Linked DNA regions of Homo sapiens: region 1 is linked to region 2. The links are contacts of gene promoters, found by promoter capture Hi-C in human tissues and cell types (Jung and others, 2019). All regions are on one chromosome and are shown on one strand. The core of a region is centred on a gene start or on the middle of the fragment in contact, and the rest is flanking DNA. Distances in the headings are between cores, read along the strand shown. Region 1 overlaps TPX2 (TPX2 microtubule nucleation factor). Region 2 holds the start of BCL2L1 (BCL2 like 1).

Evidence for each region. The method cuts DNA at HindIII sites, captures the fragments that hold promoters and counts their contacts. A contact is called where the count stands out against the background at its distance.
Region 1: a contact is called between a fragment that was not itself captured here and the fragment with the promoter of BCL2L1 in region 2, in 1 of the 25 tissues and cell types used here (mesenchymal stem cells).

What each region holds. Positions count from the first base shown.
Region 1 is chr20:31,757,743-31,760,442 of GRCh38, reverse strand. It overlaps TPX2 (TPX2 microtubule nucleation factor), which reads right to left. Exons shown (of 18, transcript NM_012112.5): 4 at 264-386. Among named protein-coding and RNA genes, the nearest start is that of TPX2, 20 kb to the right of the region's middle. The HindIII fragment of the contact is 7,137 bases long and covers 1-2,700 here.
Region 2 is chr20:31,721,564-31,724,263 of GRCh38, reverse strand. It overlaps BCL2L1 (BCL2 like 1), which reads left to right and starts at 1,396. Exons shown (of 3, transcript NM_138578.3): 1 at 1,396-1,646; 2 at 1,916-2,609. The coding sequence starts at 2,046. RefSeq lists enhancers at 298-497, 267-1,021, 1,028-1,087, 1,022-1,777 and silencers at 528-977, 1,184-1,478, 1,378-1,487, 1,538-1,657. The HindIII fragment of the contact is 4,180 bases long and covers 1-2,700 here.

The DNA of each region.
Region 1 (2,700 bases), core at 193-2,692, 36 kb before region 2:
TGTACTCCACCAGCCTGGGTGACAGAACCAGACCCCATCTTAAAGAAAAAAAAAAAAAAATTCTATGTTAGCTTAAGCTCCAAGAGATTTTTTTTTAAGTGTAGCACATCATTAGTTTTACATTTATCATGAAATGAATTAGCCCATTTCACCAATAATAAACAAAGAGATAGAGCATTTAGGTAATTTTCCCAGAACCTCAGGCTTCTAAAACACTGTCCCACCATTCTATCAAGGAGCTTTTTTCTAAGATGTTTTCTTACCTGGTTTCAAAGGTGTGACAATAGCTTGCTGAAGATTAGCCTTTCTCAAAGGAGTTTTGCCCTGAAAAAGCCCTCCAGTTCCATTCTTCCCCAGTAACTTATTCTCCAAATTGGCCTTCTCCTCTGTGAAAAGGGAAGATCATCATTGTCTGATCAGCAAGGAAGCAAAACAAATCACTATCACGCATTTAAAATGCAAACTAAAGCTCCCTACCAGTACACTTCCAACTCATGTGGCAAGTACAAGCAAAGTTCTAGCAATCAAAAGAAAAAGTACACATTACACATCCGAGATAGACTATAAGAACAATCACTAAAAACTGGCAACATTGAACAATGTATTATAAAAAAGGAAAAGTACAGATTCTGCATTGTGAATAACTCCTTATCTTTGTTTGGTACACATTTAGGGTCATACAAATATGAACTGGCTTTATCTACTCCCTAAATATATCATGTTCCTCTTAAAGAAAACTGTAACCAGCCGGGAGCGATGGCTCACACCTGTAATCCCAGCACTTTGGGAGGCCGAGGCGGGTGGGTCATGAGGTCAGGAGATCGAGACTGTCTTGGCCAACATGGTGAAACCCCGTCTCTACTAAAATACAAAAAATTAGCCAGGCGTGGTGGCACATGCCTTTAATCCCAGCTACTTGAGAAGCTGAGGCAGGGGAATCGCTTGAACCTGGAAGGTGGAATTTGCAGTAAGCTGAGACCGCACCACTGCACTACAGCCTGGCGACAGAGCAAGACTCCATCTCAAAAAAAAAAAAAAAAAAAAAACGAAAGAAAACTGTAACCATCAAAAACTGTAGGGCTTACAAGAGATACTGTATAGTCTTACAGAGTTTCCTCCTCAGTGGGGTGGTGGGAGGAATAAGGGGTGTGTGAGGGTAGAGCAGAGCTAGGTTCTCTCAAGAAATTTTATCTTAGATTCTACTGTGCCCAGAAGTCAGTACAAAGCAGTGAAGGGTCTGTTCTACCAACAGCCTACTGATAGTTTCAGGAATGCAGTGAGACACAGCAATAACTACCCTGTGCATGTACATTCTGATTGCAACTGTGTAGAAAGATGTGACTATTTATTTGGGAAAGAAATTGGAAAGTAATATATTAAAACTGAGGTAGTTTTGTTAGCCAAAAGAACTCTGGCAAAAACAAAAAGAAAAAAAAATAAAAATGTTTTAAAACTAAGGTAGTTTTGGAAAAATAGTGGGGTCATTTTTTTTCTTCCAAATTGTATTTAACAGTATTCTTAGGCTAATCTTTTCTTTTCTTTTTTATTTTAAAGAAAAGCTTAGAAAAAGAAATCCTCAGACAGCCCAGCCATTTCCTTACAGTTCCAGTGAAGCAAGGGCATGGGGAAGATCCCCGCAGGACAGCTGGCCCTTGTATTTATTTACCCTTCCTCCCACACCACTTCCAACAGACGACTCCTCTCAGGATCCCCACTAGATGCCATTAAAGTCCTTTTCCAAAAAATGGCACCTGTCAACACATTTGGACAGTGCACTATACGGATAAGTACAGCTGCAATGGACTCACTTCTGTTCCCCACCACATATTCATAGTGATTTCTCCCGATAAGGAGGATGGAGACATGAGAGAAAGAATCAAAGGGGCCTCAACAACTAGTCTCAGATATTATTTCAAAGTAATGTAAAAATGTAACCACATTCTTACTTACCATTGGCCAAGCAATACTGTTTCTGGGAATGGGTTCTTAGTAGCATAATCCTTCCATTTAAAAATGAATTGAGGGCCAGGCGCAGTGGCTCACGCCTGTAATCCCAGCACTTTGGGAGGCTGAGGTGGGTGGATCACCTGAGGTCAGGGGTTCAAGACTAGCCTGGCCAACATGGCAAAACACTGTCTCTACTAAAAATACAAAAATTAGTTAGGCATGCTGGTGGGCGCCTGTAATCCCAGCTACTTGGGCGGCTGAGGCAGAACCGCTTGAACAAGAGTGGCGGAGGTTACAGTGAGCTGAGATTGTACCACTGCACTCCAGCCTGGGCAACAGAGCGAGACTACAGCCTCAAAAAAAAAAAAAAAAAAAATGAATTGAGGGAGGGGTGGCAGGAGGGAGGTGAGGGTAATTATAAAAGATCTTGACTGTGATGGTAGACACATAAACCAACACAGGTGATAAAACCACAGAGAACTTAATACACATACAAGTAAAACTGGAGAAATCTGAGTAAAACTGGTAGATTGTATGAATGTCAATATCCTAGCTGTGATATAATCTATCCCTAATGATAGTAGACAAAGTTTTTATGTGGCTGCCATCACTACAGACATATTTGAGCATGGAGTTTTGTTGAACACTGGTTCATCTGAACTTTCCCATAGGTCCCTAAAGCTTAAATCTGCCATTCTGAACTACAAAACAACATATGCTTTGTACTTACAATCCATTCCCCAAATACTGGGC
Region 2 (2,700 bases), core at 147-2,646:
CATTGAAGCACAGAGCAGTTGAGAAACTTGCCTAACTAGCAGAGTTAGAATCCAGACAAAGTGCTTAACCACAAGGCGATGCTTCTTCTATATATAAACTGACGGACGGATGAAATAGGCTGATTGACTGATGAGTGACTGACTGACTGACTGAATGAATAAATGGAAATGTGATTATAAATGTTGATTTTTTGCGCCTCCCGATTCCCCAGATCTACCGCGAGGGGGCGATCTCTCCCCGGTCCTGATGCCAGTCACTCAAGGCGCGCACTCCCTTTGCGTCTCGGGCTCGCGCGCGTTGCCGCGGCACCGGAAGTGACTGAGCTTGCAAGTTCCCCTGTCTCTTCAGGGGAAACTGAGGCCGGCTTGTTCGGGAGAGACGGCGCGAGCAGTCAGCCAGGTAGGCCGGCAGCCAGGTAGGCCGGCCCGGGTCCGCGGCGCGGAACTCGGCCGCGAAGAGCTCTTGCGTCTGGAAGCTACCGGGCCGATGAAGGGGGATGTGGCCCCCCACGGCTCGCGGGGCTCGCAGGTGAGAGCGCCGCCTCCCCTGTGCGTGACAGCCGTTGCGCCCAATAGGAGCCTTCGCCGTCCCGCTTCCGTGCCGGCTGGGCTCGCTGATTGGCTGCGCTGGGGCGGACCGCCGGGGGCGAGGCCCCTCCTCTCAGGAAGGTCTAGGGGGCGCCCCCGGGGGAGGGCGGTTGCCTAGCAACGGGGCGGTGGCTCGGCGGGTACCCGGCCTAGTGAGCTCGAGAAGCCGCTAGGCCGCAGCCGGCCCACCCTGGGCTCCGGAGAGGTGCAGCCCCCGGCCCCGGAGCCCTCCCGGGGGCGCCAGAAAGCCACTTTGGGCCTGTCCCCAGGAAAACGTGGTCTCAGCTGTGGGGCCGTCGAGCAGGCCTCGACCCCTCTTCCTGACCTGAGGAGAGGCCCAGCGCCTCACCCTCACCCAGTCTTTGTGCAGGGCGCCGGCGGCCATTGTGTCCGGGCGGGGAATGGAGGACCCGGCAATCCCCAACTGCCACGTTCTGGGCCTTTGGGGAATTCAGAGCAAACCAGCGGCATTTGTTGGGGGTCTCCGGCCTTCAACATCACAGACAGGCCTGGGGGTGGCCTTCCCAAAGTCAGATTGCAGATCTGAGGCAGTTTCCCCCTCCCTGCGTCCCTCACTGAAACCTTGAACCCCATTGAGAAGTCCCTTTAGGGTTTCGGACGCCTCCACCTCACCCTGGGCTGGTGCTTAAATAGAAAAAAGAAAAACAAAAACCAACTAAATCCATACCAGCCACCTCCGGGAGAGTACTCCTGGCTCCCAGTAGGAGGCGGAGAGCCAAGGGGCGTGCAAGAGAGAGGGGGCTGGGCTCCCGGGTGGCAGGAGGCCGCGGCTGCGGAGCGGCCGCCCTCGATCCGGGCGATGGAGGAGGAAGCAAGCGAGGGGGCTGGTTCCTGAGCTTCGCAATTCCTGTGTCGCCTTCTGGGCTCCCAGCCTGCCGGGTCGCATGATCCCTCCGGCCGGAGCTGGTTTTTTTGCCAGCCACCGCGAGGCCGGCTGAGTTACCGGCATCCCCGCAGCCACCTCCTCTCCCGACCTGTGATACAAAAGATCTTCCGGGGGCTGCACCTGCCTGCCTTTGCCTAAGGCGGATTTGAATGTAGGTGGTGCGGGGGAGCGGGAGTGGGGCGGGGGGGACTGCCCAGGGAGTGACTTTCCGAGGAAGGCATTTCGGAGAAGACGGGGGTAGAAAAGGCTGGTGGGAGATTCAGAGTCCACTGGTGCTTTCGATTTGACTTAAGTGAAGTATCTTGGAACCTAGACCCAGACCTTCGTAAGACCCACAAAGAAACCAGTTCTGGTACCTGGAGGGGGAATGGAATTTTTAGGGTAAATGGCATGCATATTAATTATTTTTTTTTCCTGAAGCTCTTTCTCTCCCTTCAGAATCTTATCTTGGCTTTGGATCTTAGAAGAGAATCACTAACCAGAGACGAGACTCAGTGAGTGAGCAGGTGTTTTGGACAATGGACTGGTTGAGCCCATCCCTATTATAAAAATGTCTCAGAGCAACCGGGAGCTGGTGGTTGACTTTCTCTCCTACAAGCTTTCCCAGAAAGGATACAGCTGGAGTCAGTTTAGTGATGTGGAAGAGAACAGGACTGAGGCCCCAGAAGGGACTGAATCGGAGATGGAGACCCCCAGTGCCATCAATGGCAACCCATCCTGGCACCTGGCAGACAGCCCCGCGGTGAATGGAGCCACTGGCCACAGCAGCAGTTTGGATGCCCGGGAGGTGATCCCCATGGCAGCAGTAAAGCAAGCGCTGAGGGAGGCAGGCGACGAGTTTGAACTGCGGTACCGGCGGGCATTCAGTGACCTGACATCCCAGCTCCACATCACCCCAGGGACAGCATATCAGAGCTTTGAACAGGTAGTGAATGAACTCTTCCGGGATGGGGTAAACTGGGGTCGCATTGTGGCCTTTTTCTCCTTCGGCGGGGCACTGTGCGTGGAAAGCGTAGACAAGGAGATGCAGGTATTGGTGAGTCGGATCGCAGCTTGGATGGCCACTTACCTGAATGACCACCTAGAGCCTTGGATCCAGGAGAACGGCGGCTGGGTAAGAACCAAGCCCCTTGTGTGTCCCTTTTCTTTGGCCTCTGGTCAGAGATCCCCAACAGCCCTTCTTCTGTATCTCTTTCTGTTGTGTT